Linked DNA regions of Homo sapiens: regions 1 and 2 are each linked to region 3. The links are contacts of gene promoters, found by promoter capture Hi-C in human tissues and cell types (Jung and others, 2019). All regions are on one chromosome and are shown on one strand. The core of a region is centred on a gene start or on the middle of the fragment in contact, and the rest is flanking DNA. Distances in the headings are between cores, read along the strand shown. Region 1 overlaps COL11A1 (collagen type XI alpha 1 chain). Region 2 has its middle 47 kb from the start of COL11A1. Region 3 holds the start of COL11A1 (collagen type XI alpha 1 chain).

The links. Contacts are between HindIII fragments. The study calls those that stand out against the background at their distance.
Region 1: a contact is called between a fragment that was not itself captured here and the fragment with the promoter of COL11A1 in region 3, in 3 of the 25 tissues and cell types used here (aorta, bladder and hippocampus).
Region 2: a contact is called between a fragment that was not itself captured here and the fragment with the promoter of COL11A1 in region 3, in 1 of the 25 tissues and cell types used here (H1 embryonic stem cells).

What each region holds. Positions count from the first base shown.
Region 1 is chr1:103,059,579-103,063,210 of GRCh38, reverse strand. The region is part of intron 4 of COL11A1 (collagen type XI alpha 1 chain); the gene reads left to right. Among named protein-coding and RNA genes, the nearest start is that of COL11A1, 47 kb to the left of the region's middle. The HindIII fragment of the contact is 5,903 bases long and covers 1-3,632 here.
Region 2 is chr1:103,153,623-103,157,581 of GRCh38, reverse strand. No RefSeq gene overlaps it. Among named protein-coding and RNA genes, the nearest start is that of COL11A1, 47 kb to the right of the region's middle. The HindIII fragment of the contact is 3,157 bases long and covers 196-3,352 here.
Region 3 is chr1:103,106,732-103,110,232 of GRCh38, reverse strand. It overlaps COL11A1 (collagen type XI alpha 1 chain), which reads left to right and starts at 1,711. Exons shown (of 67, transcript NM_001854.4): 1 at 1,711-2,160. The coding sequence starts at 2,055. The HindIII fragment of the contact is 6,490 bases long and covers 1-2,864 here.

The DNA.
Region 1 (3,632 bases), core at 898-3,397, 47 kb after region 3:
TTTGGAAAGATCCACAAAATAACATGCTGGGAAATTAATTGTGAGTGTATTGAATCTATAGATCAAGTTGAGGAGAACTGACATCTTGACAGTATTGAGTCATTCTATCCATGAACATAGAATATTTTTATTTTTAAAGTTGTTCGATATCCTTCATCAGAGTTTTGTAGTTTTCTTCATATAGATCTTATATTTATTTTGTTACATTTATACATATGTATTTCTTTTTTGAGTGCTCATGTAAATAGTGTTGAGTGATAAATTTCAAATTCTTCTTAAGAAAATGATTGATGTTTTATATACCTTGTATACACAACCTTGTAACAATCATTTATTATTTCCAATTTTTTTGTCAATTATTTTGGATTTTTTACCTAGACAATTATGTAATCTGTGGAAAAGTTTAATTTTTCTCTTCCCCATCTGAATACATTTTATTTCCTTTTCTTGTCTTACTGCATCAACTAGGACTCCCAGTATGATGTAGAAATGCAATATTAACAGAGGACATCCTTGCCTTCTTTCTGATCAGTTTGAGAAAATGTCCTTCTGTTCCTAGTTTTCAGAACATGTTTTAAAATCATGAATGAATGCTGTATTTTGTCAAATGCTTTCCTGCATCTATGATATGATAATTTATTTATTTTTTCTTTAGCTTGTTGATGGTGATACTAATTTATTTTCAAATATTGAAACAGCCTGGCATACCTGGGATAAATTCCACTTGACTATGGCATTTACTTATTTTATATACCTTGGGATTCAATTTGATAATATTTTGTTAAGGATTTTTGCATTTATGTTCATGAGAGATATTGGTCTGTAGTATTATTTTCTTTTAATGTTTTCACCTGGTTTTGATATTAGGGTGATGTGACCTCATAAGATCAGTTAGTAATATTCCTTTCGCTTCTATATTCTGAAAAAGGTTGCAGAGAATTGGTATATCTTTTTCCTTAAATGTTTGATAGACTTCAACAGTGAACCCATCTTGTTCTGATGCTTTCTCTTTAGAAAGTTTATTAATTTTTGATTCAATCTTCTTATTGGACCTTTTCAGATTTTCTAATTCTTTATTTATGAGTTTTTACAGATTGGATCTACCAAGGAATTGACTTATTTCATCTAATTTATCAAATTTGTGGGCACAGAGTTTTTCATAATATTCTTTTATCATCCTTTTAATGTCCATGGGATCTGTGGTGATATCTCCTCTTTTTCCTGCCAATAATAATTTGTAACTTATCTCTTACTTAGTTGGCTTAGCTAGAGGCTTATAAATTTTATTAACATTCTGAAAGAATCAGGTTTTGGTTTGGATGCTAATTCTATGGTGACTTTCTGCTGTCTGTTTTATTACTTCTGGTGTAATTTAATTTTCTTTTGTTCTGTTTATTTCAGATTTATTTTCCTCTTTTTTGTTTAGATTCTTAGGATAGAAGCTTAGACAGTTGATTTTAGATCTTTCCTCTTTTCTAATATATTCATTCAATGCTATAGATTTCCCTCAAAGAAAAGTTATATTTTGATTTTTATTTTGTTTATAATATTTTTAAATTATTCCTGAGATTTTGTCTTCAATCCATGTATTAGTTAGAAGTATGTTTTTACATTTCCAATTATTTTGGGATTTCCCAGTTATCTTTCTGTTACGGTTTGAGAGCAGTTATTGGATTATGTATATTTGTTCAAATTTTTAAGAGTTTTCTTTTTGGCCATGAATGTAGTATATCTTGAGGAATGTCCATGTGAACTTTAGAACGATAAGTAATCTGCTGTTATTGGTTATAGGAGTATATATATGAAAATTATCTTTTTTGATTAATAGTGTTTTTAGTTCAACTTTGTCCTTACTAATTTCTGCCTGCTGTATATTTTCATTTCTGTTAGAATGGTGTTTACCATTTAAATGTAATAGTGGATTCATCTATTTTTCCTTCCATATCTATTAGATTTTGCTTCATGTATTTTGTTAGGTGCATATGCATTAAAGATTTATGTCTTTTTGGTGCACTGACCTTTTTACCCTTATTATCATGTAATGCCTCACTTTATCTCTAATAATTTTCCCTGCTCCAAAGTTTGCACTGTGTGAAATTAATTTAGCTACTCCTGTTTTCTTTTTATTAGTTTTAGAATGTTATACCTTTATACCCTTCCTTTTACTTTGTATGTGTTTTTATATTTAAAGTGTGTCTCTTGTAGACAACATGTAATTGAGCCTTGGTTTTTTTTTGATCCACTCTGACAACCTGTCTTTAATGAGTGTATTTAAATCATTCATATTTAAGGCAATTATATATATAGTTAGAATAATATTCACCATATATGTTATTATGTTCCATTTATTACCCTGGGCTCAGGTGATCCTTCCAGTACCACCATGCCTGGCTGATTCTTTTCTATTTTTTTGTAGAGATAGGGTCTCACTGTGTTGCCCAGGCTTGTCTCAAACTCCTGGGTTCAATAAATCCACCAGCCTTGGCCTCCCAAAATGCTGGGATTAAATGCATGTGCCGCCTCACCTGGCTAGGTTTTTAAATATGAACTTACACCTATTCCAAGTCAACTTTTAAATAACACTATACTGATTTATGAGTAATGCAAGCAAGTATCTTATAAAATATTTCAAATTCCTCTCTCCTGCCTTTTCTGTCATTGCAATCATTCATTTTACTTATACATAAGCATATATGCAGTGAAATCCATTATTGCTATTATTATTTTGAAAAAACTCATACCTTAGATCAATTAATAATAATAAAAAATATTTTACCTTCACTTATTCATTCTCTGAATAGTTTATGTAGATTTAAGCTTCTCACTTATATAATTTTTATTATTTCTGAAAAGCTTATTTTAACATTGCTTGCAAGGCAGGCCTACTGGCAGCAAATTCCTCAATTTTTGTTTGTCTGAGAAAGTCTATATTTCTCCTTCACTTTTGAAGAATGATTTCTCAGGGTACAGAATTCTAGTTTGGTGGTATTTTTCTCTCAACACTATATATTTCACTTTAGTCTCTCTTTCTTGTATGATTTCTGATAAGTCAGATGTAATTCTTATCTTCGCTTGTATAGGTAAGTTGGTTTTTTTCCCCTCTGGGTTCTTTTAATATTTTTAAATTTATCTTAGATTTTCTGATATTTGAAAATGATATTCCCAGATTTTTGGTCTGATATTTGAATATTATACTTCTGGAATTTTGGTTTGATGTCTGACATTAATTTGGGCAAATTCTCAGTCACTATTGCTTCAAATGTTGGTTCTATTCTTTTCTCTCTTTCTCCTTGTATTCCTATTGTGTGTAATTACATATTTTGTTGTTGTCCCAAAGCTTTTAGATATCCTGTTTAGTTTTGTATTTCCCAGCTTTTTTTCTCTTTGCTTTTAGTTTTGGAAGTTTTGATTATCACCTCCTCAAACTCAGATTCTTTCCTTAGCAGTGTCTAATTTACTAATGAGCCCATCAAATGTATGCTTCATTTCAATTATGGTGTTTTTTATCTACAGCATTTATTTTTGATTCTTTGTTACAGTTATCATCTTTCTGCTTACATTAGCCATTCTGTTCCTGCCTGTTGTCTACTTTTTTATTAAAGTTCTTAGCACGGGAATCATAGTTTGAAAAA
Region 2 (3,959 bases), core at 525-3,024, 47 kb before region 3:
CCCAGCCTCTGGAGGCTGCTGGACTCCCTTGAGAAGTCCAAAGACATTAGGGAATCTTTGGGTACCAAGACAAATTTGAATTTTTAACAATAACTTTTTTTTTAATAGTGGAACATCCTTTTTTTTAGCTCTGTAATAGGAGCTTTAAAGAATGAAAAGGAAGACTATTGGGAAGAAAGTGTTTTTCTAGATTTTCCAGGAACTATTATGTATCTCTTCTTATTGTTACCCACCATACAACTTCATTGAGTTCTACTCAGCGCAGGCATCTCCGAAAAAGTTTGCAATGCATTAACAAAAATGAAAGTCCTCTTCTGAAGGTGAGGTTTTCCAGACTAGCTCATGTATTTTGTGGCAAAGATTATTATCACACGTCCAGGGCTTTGTTTGCCTAGAGTTAATTCCTGTGGTTCCTGTAATTGGAAGGCAATCAGAAGAAGTGGGAAAGAGAGATGTTGGTCAAGGCTAACCATTATTCAGCAGTAGCAGCAGCTTCATGTGTTTGAAATCACTTTGTGGTTTTTCCAGTTTGATTTTTATTTTCTGTTGGACTAAACACTTGCCACTCTTGTTTTGAAGTTAAGGATAATAAAGAGTAGCGTTCTTGGACATCACATTACTTTAATACCTCATTGTTATAATTAATGTCATCCAGAAATCTTTCAAAAGAAGAATATATTATAATAACACTCAGGAAAAGTTTACTGTTCCAGGGTCCATTGCAGATTTTTAAGAAGACCATCCTTAGAGTTTTGCTTGCTTTAAGGGAAGGTAAAGCTTCTTCTTCCGAAGTATTTATAGATAATTCTTAATAACCATGCCAATGAAAGCCCGATATATCCTATGTGAATGTGTTACACAGATAACTTCCCCCATCACTAAATCCTTTTTACTAAGATGTCTTGCTTATCAAATAGTTAACTCAAATAACATATCTGTTGGTGAAGTTGGAGTCATATAGGCAGGTTCATATCTGACCTTATGCTCTGTTAGTTATGTGACCTTGAACATATCACCTAACCTTGTGAGCCATGTTTTCTGATTTGTAAATATGTGACCATTAAGAATTATGAAGTGGCTGATATTTTGCCCTAATTGCAAGCTAGCACATTAACATGCCTCATTTTCATGAATGTTGGCAGAAAACACAAGACTAGAGGATCCAAGAAAAAAGGACATTTTATTGCTCATAGCAATAACAGTAGACAGAAGATCTTCATTTTCTTGTGCCTCATTTGGCACAAAGCAATGCAATTAGGAATATTGAGAATCCAGAGGTATAAGGGACTTCAATATTAAAATTTACTATTTTCCACTATTTTTCTTAAAAACCGTGTTTCATGCCCATTCTCTTTTATCCCTAAATACCGTTTGTCTTGTTCAGTCTTTCCATATTCTTTTGCCAGAGGTCGCCAGAAAATGTGTCTGTTTTTTCAAACAGAGGAAAGGCTTAGAGGATCTACATATTTCTTATAAACTTCAAAATTTATTAATGGTTATTTTCCAGAGGTACCTGGTGTCTCTAAGTACTAAGACTTAGTGGATTCTTTGACATGAAGGTCTTACTTGTTGGCTTGCTCTCTGAACACTTAGATTTTATTTTTTTACCATCTTCTAAATGAAAGTACCACTTTCCAACCATTTTCTGGCTTCTAGAATTTTATTGATATTAAATGTTTGTTATATCTACTCTGTTTCTTTTTTTCTTTGTAGGTGGATGTCTATTTTTTTCCTTCACTCTAATTTAAATAAATTTTCAATAGAATGCACAGATTAGGCCGGGCGCGGTGGCTCATGCCTGTAATTCCAGCACTTTGGGAGGCCAAGGCAGGCGGATCACCTGAGGTCCGGAGTTCCAGACCATCCTGACCAACATGGAGAAACCCCATCTCTACAAAAAATACAAAATTAGCTGGGCGTGGTAGTGCATGCCTGTAACCCCAGCTACTCGGGACGCTGAGGCAGGAGAATCGCTGAACCCCGGGAGGCGGAGGTTGCCGTGAGCCGAGATTGCGCCACTGCACTCCAGCCTGGGCCACAAAAGCGAAAGTCCGTCTAAAAAAAAAAAGAATGCACGGAATAATAAAAAGTTTCTACAAGCATGAGGTCTATGTTCTGAGACATTACTAGCATTTTTCTACCCTCTCAAGTTCCAAGGTATGTTTGTAACTACAAACCTAACACAAATGGCTCTGTGGTATTTAATTATTTTATCTTAACTTGTTCTTTCTTTTCTAGAGATAATAACAACAAAAAAACTTGTTTCTTTTGCTGTGGAGAACTTGTGACACAAATGTATTTTTTTCTAAAATTTTTAAAGGGCCATAATTACAATATTAAAATATTTAATTGATCTATATATGCACACCCACACACATATATATACACACACACATACATACACACACATATATGCACACCACAATTTCTTCATTCATCTGTCAGTGAACACTTAAGTAGTTTCCATGTCTTGTCTATTGTGAGTAATGCTGCAATGAACATGGGAGTGCACATATCTCTTCAAACTATTGATTTTGTTCCTTCAGATATATATCCAGAAGTGAGATTGTTGGGTTATACGGTAGTTCTATTTATAATTTTTTGAGGAAACTCCATACTGTTTTCCATAACAACTGTATCAATTTGCATCACCACCTTCTTCATAGTATACAAGCGTTCCCTTTTCTCTATCTCTTTGCCAAATTTGTTATATCTTAAACTTTTTCATAGCAGTCATCCTAACAGGTGTGAAGTAATAATTCATTCTGGGTTTGAATAACATTTCCTGGTGATTAGTTGAGCATCTTTTTCATGTACATGTTGGTCGTTTGTATACTTACTTTGGATAAATGTCTATTCAAGCGCTTTCTCCCGTTTTTAGTTGAATTATTTGTTTTTGATATTTGTTTGTTTGACTAATTTTTGCTATTGAGTTGTATGAGTTTCTTACATATTCTGGATATTAAAACCTTATTGGACATATGGCTTGCAGATTGTATTAGTCTGTTCTCACACTGCTATGAAGAAATACCTGAGATTAGGTAATTTATAAATGAAAGAGGCTTAATTGACTCACAGTTCCACATGGCTGGGGAAGCTTCAGGAAATTTACAATCATGTTGGAAGGTGAAAGGGAAGCAGGCGCCTTCTTTACAAGCCAGCAGAAGGGAGAAGTGTGAGTGAAGGAGGAACTTGCCAAACACTTACAAAACCATCAGATTTCACGATAACTCTCTAACCATCATGAGAACTGCATGGGGGAAACAGCCCCCATGACCCAATCACCTCCTACCTCTCAAAATATCTGTGATATGGTTTGGTTTTGTGTCCCTCCCAAATCTCATCTCTAATTGTAATCGAGGTGTTGAGAAAGGACTACAGTTTGAGATGAAATTTAGATGGGGACACAAAGCCAAACCATATAACGGATATTTTATTTTACTCTATAACAGTAAGATAAAATTTATTTACTTTTCATTTAGCTGATTGTTTCTTTGCCTCACAGAAACTTTAACTTGATATAGTCCCACTTACTTATTTTTGCTTTTGTTTCTTGTGCTTTTGGTGTTGTATCCAAAAAGTCATTGCAAAGAGCATTGTCAAAAGCTTTTACCTTATGTTCTTTTTCCCTGCTTTTATAGTTTCAGAGCTTGCATTTAAGTTTAATCTATTTCAAGTTAATTTTTATGAGTGATGTACAATAGCCATCTAATTTTATTTATTTTAATGAAGATAGCCAATTTCCCAACACCATTTATTGAAGAGATTATCATGTCCCCATTTTCTGTATTGTTGACACTCTTGTCAAATATTAGTTGACCATATACGCCTGAGTTTATTTCTGAGTTGTTCATTCTATTGCAATGGTCTATGTGTCTGTTTTTATGCAAGTACCACACTAGTTTGATTACTGTAGCATTGTAATGCACTTTGAAATTAGAAAGTGTGATTACTCCAGA
Region 3 (3,501 bases), core at 462-2,961:
GAAGAACTAGTTGATGATATTTCTCTGCAGCTGATATGAGGCATCCCAAACATTCTGCCAACAGCATTACAAATGTCAAGTATTTTTTTACCTGTGATCTAAGAGATAGCTTCTTGATAAAGGAGTAGTTCTTTGTTATGGAGAGTGATATTTATATTGAAGGTATTTTCTAGTTGCTTTCTTCAGTTTATATGTCTCTGTTCATGCTGTTATACCCCTATAAGGGCTCAATCTAGTCTTTGATCACCTTTCTTCCAATTTTAAACTGCATGAAGAGATTTGATGTAATCTGATAGATCATGAGGCATATTTTGATGACTAATAGAAAACTGAGTTCCTAAAGATTAGTGGCAGCTGTAGAATTGAACATATGTACCCAGTAAACTTAGTTGAGGGCCTTTAAGCATTTAAATGACTTAAATACTCAAAGTAGGCCCTGGCCAATGCTTCTAGTCTTTGTCAACAGAAAAATGTGTTCATTCATCCAACCCATCTCTATTGAGTGGCTAATGTATGCTGGCACCCTGATGGGCACTGTTCCAGAAAATCTTTGAGAGAAACATCTTAGGAATTATTAACGAACAAAAAGGAGTCAATAGAATGGAATGATTTTAACGTGGAAAAAGTGACTTGGGAATCTATATTCCAGGTGTAAGAGGATTACTTTGAGGATGGGTTAAGTAGAGAGGGAATTTAGAAACCTGCCCTCTTCATTACTCTCACTGTGGAGTGACCACGTTTTTGGCTCCCGAGGCTGAGGGCCAGGGCCAGGCCCTTAATGAGGAGCTGTGGGCCGAGCCTCTTGGAGATTTCTGCTAGTTGCTTTCCTCGCCTTTTCTACACACTCCTCAGTACCCCCTCATCCAGGATCAGAACAGAATCAGCTGGAAAATTAAATTACTCACCCTCTTAATGTCAGCTCCCATAAATTTTTTCCTCCTTCTCCCTCAGAGTACAGTTCAACTCTTTTAAGAGGAAAGCCACTGAATGAACCTAGTGCTGAATTTAAACGTTTAAGAGATAAACCTGTCAGTTTCAGATCTCCAAAGAGGACTTCCCTACATGCTCTAGGTTTTGACTTCTAGGGTCCCTCCATTCTATCTTCATTCCTTTCTTCTAATTATTGGGTTAAAAAAATAAAAATAAAAACACTTTTCAGAGTAGGCAGCGCAATGAGTCCACTGGTTCCACGTCTGCCATACGAAGCAGATTTTTGCACAAGGATAAGGTTACCGCTGCCAGCCCAGGACTCCAGCGGTGTGGCCGATCAGGCGCTGGCCTCCTCCCCTCTCCCGCCGACCAGCGAGAGGCTAACAGACGGGTGCAAGTAGACAAGTAGCTGTTTTTATTGAATACAGAAGCTCCTTGAAAACTCCGTGTGCTCCGGGGCTCTCCTGCAATTCCTTTCATTCCCAAAGTGCTGGAGCCAAGCACGCGTCCCCCGTAACTCCCTCCCATTTTTTCTCGGGGATTTGGTAGGCGAGGAGGGAGGAGAGGAGTGGGGAGATGGGGGGTGGTTGGTGGGCTGGGCCTGCTCGGAGTCCTCATTCTTGGGCTGAGGGAGGCGGGGGCGGGCTTGGGGCCGCCCCAGAGTCGTGTGATTGGGTCTGACCCTCAGCCTGCTTGTCAGTTTCGCCCTGGGAGGGGGAGCTGGGAGCAGGGAGGGGAGTGGGCGGAGGAGGGGGCTGCCCGGAGCCACTCGTCCAGCCCACTGACGGCATGAAGCCTTTAGGGGCACACAGTACTCTCAGCTTGTTGGTGGAAGCCCCTCATCTGCCTTCATTCTGAAGGCAGGGCCCGGCAGAGGAAGGATCAGAGGGTCGCGGCCGGAGGGTCCCGGCCGGTGGGGCCAACTCAGAGGGAGAGGAAAGGGCTAGAGACACGAAGAACGCAAACCATCAAATTTAGAAGAAAAAGCCCTTTGACTTTTTCCCCCTCTCCCTCCCCAATGGCTGTGTAGCAAACATCCCTGGCGATACCTTGGAAAGGACGAAGTTGGTCTGCAGTCGCAATTTCGTGGGTTGAGTTCACAGTTGTGAGTGCGGGGCTCGGAGATGGAGCCGTGGTCCTCTAGGTGGAAAACGAAACGGTGGCTCTGGGATTTCACCGTAACAACCCTCGCATTGACCTTCCTCTTCCAAGCTAGAGAGGTCAGAGGAGGTAAGAAAAAATGGATTTGGGGAGGTGGGAGATTGCCGTCGGTCCTACTGCTTCTGCGCCCCTCCCCCCACTTTACCCTTCCTCCCCGCTCTTCAAGAAAAAAAAAAAAAAGCAATTCCCTTAAATACAATCCAGATTGTAGCTGCTACCAGGTTGGAATTGGAAACTGGAGAAAGAGATGAATGTAGGCGGGACAATAAAGGGAGACGAGGTAGGTAGCAGGAAAAAAAGATCTGTCAGGAGGAGAGCCTGCTGAAAATGCCCTTCACCACTTTCCAGCCTCTTTGAAAAGAGGAAAAATATTACCTTGAACACAAGGGCAGTTATACAAAGCTTTTGTTTGAGGCACAGTCTTTAGACTGCCCTTGGAACACATCTGGTTTCTTCAGATTCTAACTAATGGGAATATCTTTTTAAGGGTGAGCTGAGGAGAAAATATAAAGGGTATAAAATGAACCTTGATAAAGTTCTTTGTCTGCAACCAAGTGAGAAGCAGGCTGTTTTAGTTTTGGGGATATAAGAGAAACCAGGGGGGTGAATCTAGAAGATTAGGAACACTCTGTGTGTTTGGGGGGCGGGGGAGGGTCAATCTATTTTAAGTGGACAAAAATTGGCAGATTATTAGGAATAGGTTCAAGATAGGGAGAACACTTTCCCCTGAATTTCAGTGACTCCCCCCACCCCACCCCTCCGCTTCTTCTTGCAGGTTGGACGTGCAGTTCTCTTGGAGAATGATGAAAGTCGCCAAGCAAATGGGGTGGGGGCGGAGGACTAGGGATTGGGAGGGAAGGGGAGGGGGTGTGGGTAGGGTGGGAGGAGAGAGGTAAGGAACAGTTCCTACGTGGCACCACCAAATATTCAATGGCCAGACCTGCTCGGAAGTCTGCAACCCTGTCAGTACCCACGGAGGGAGAGCGACTTCACTCCTCCCCTCCGCCTTCTCCCTCCCTCTTTCCCCCGCCCTTTCCCGAAAAGGCATCTGGCTGGAGCGGTCCGTTAGGTGCCTTAGAATCGACTGGCAGGCGAAAGCCTTTGGAGGTCAGGGAGCCCAGACAGCTTAGAGTAGAAAGCAAGCTTTGTGAGGAGTGCAGAAAGAAGCTGGGGGATAGGAAGGAGGGTGACTGACGAGGTTGGGTCAAGGGAGATAAAAATGGTCAAGCCCAAATGCGTAGGCTTTAGCAGAAACTTGAGTGTGGCCCTGGGTCTAGATGCCAAGATCTGAGCTCTCCCTAATGAGAGTCAGCCCTCCCGGAGGCCGATCTCTGAGACCAGGTTATTCCTTCCACACGCTTAGTGGCTTTCAGCTTCCCGAGTAGCAGGCAGCGCTAGATTATTCCCTTG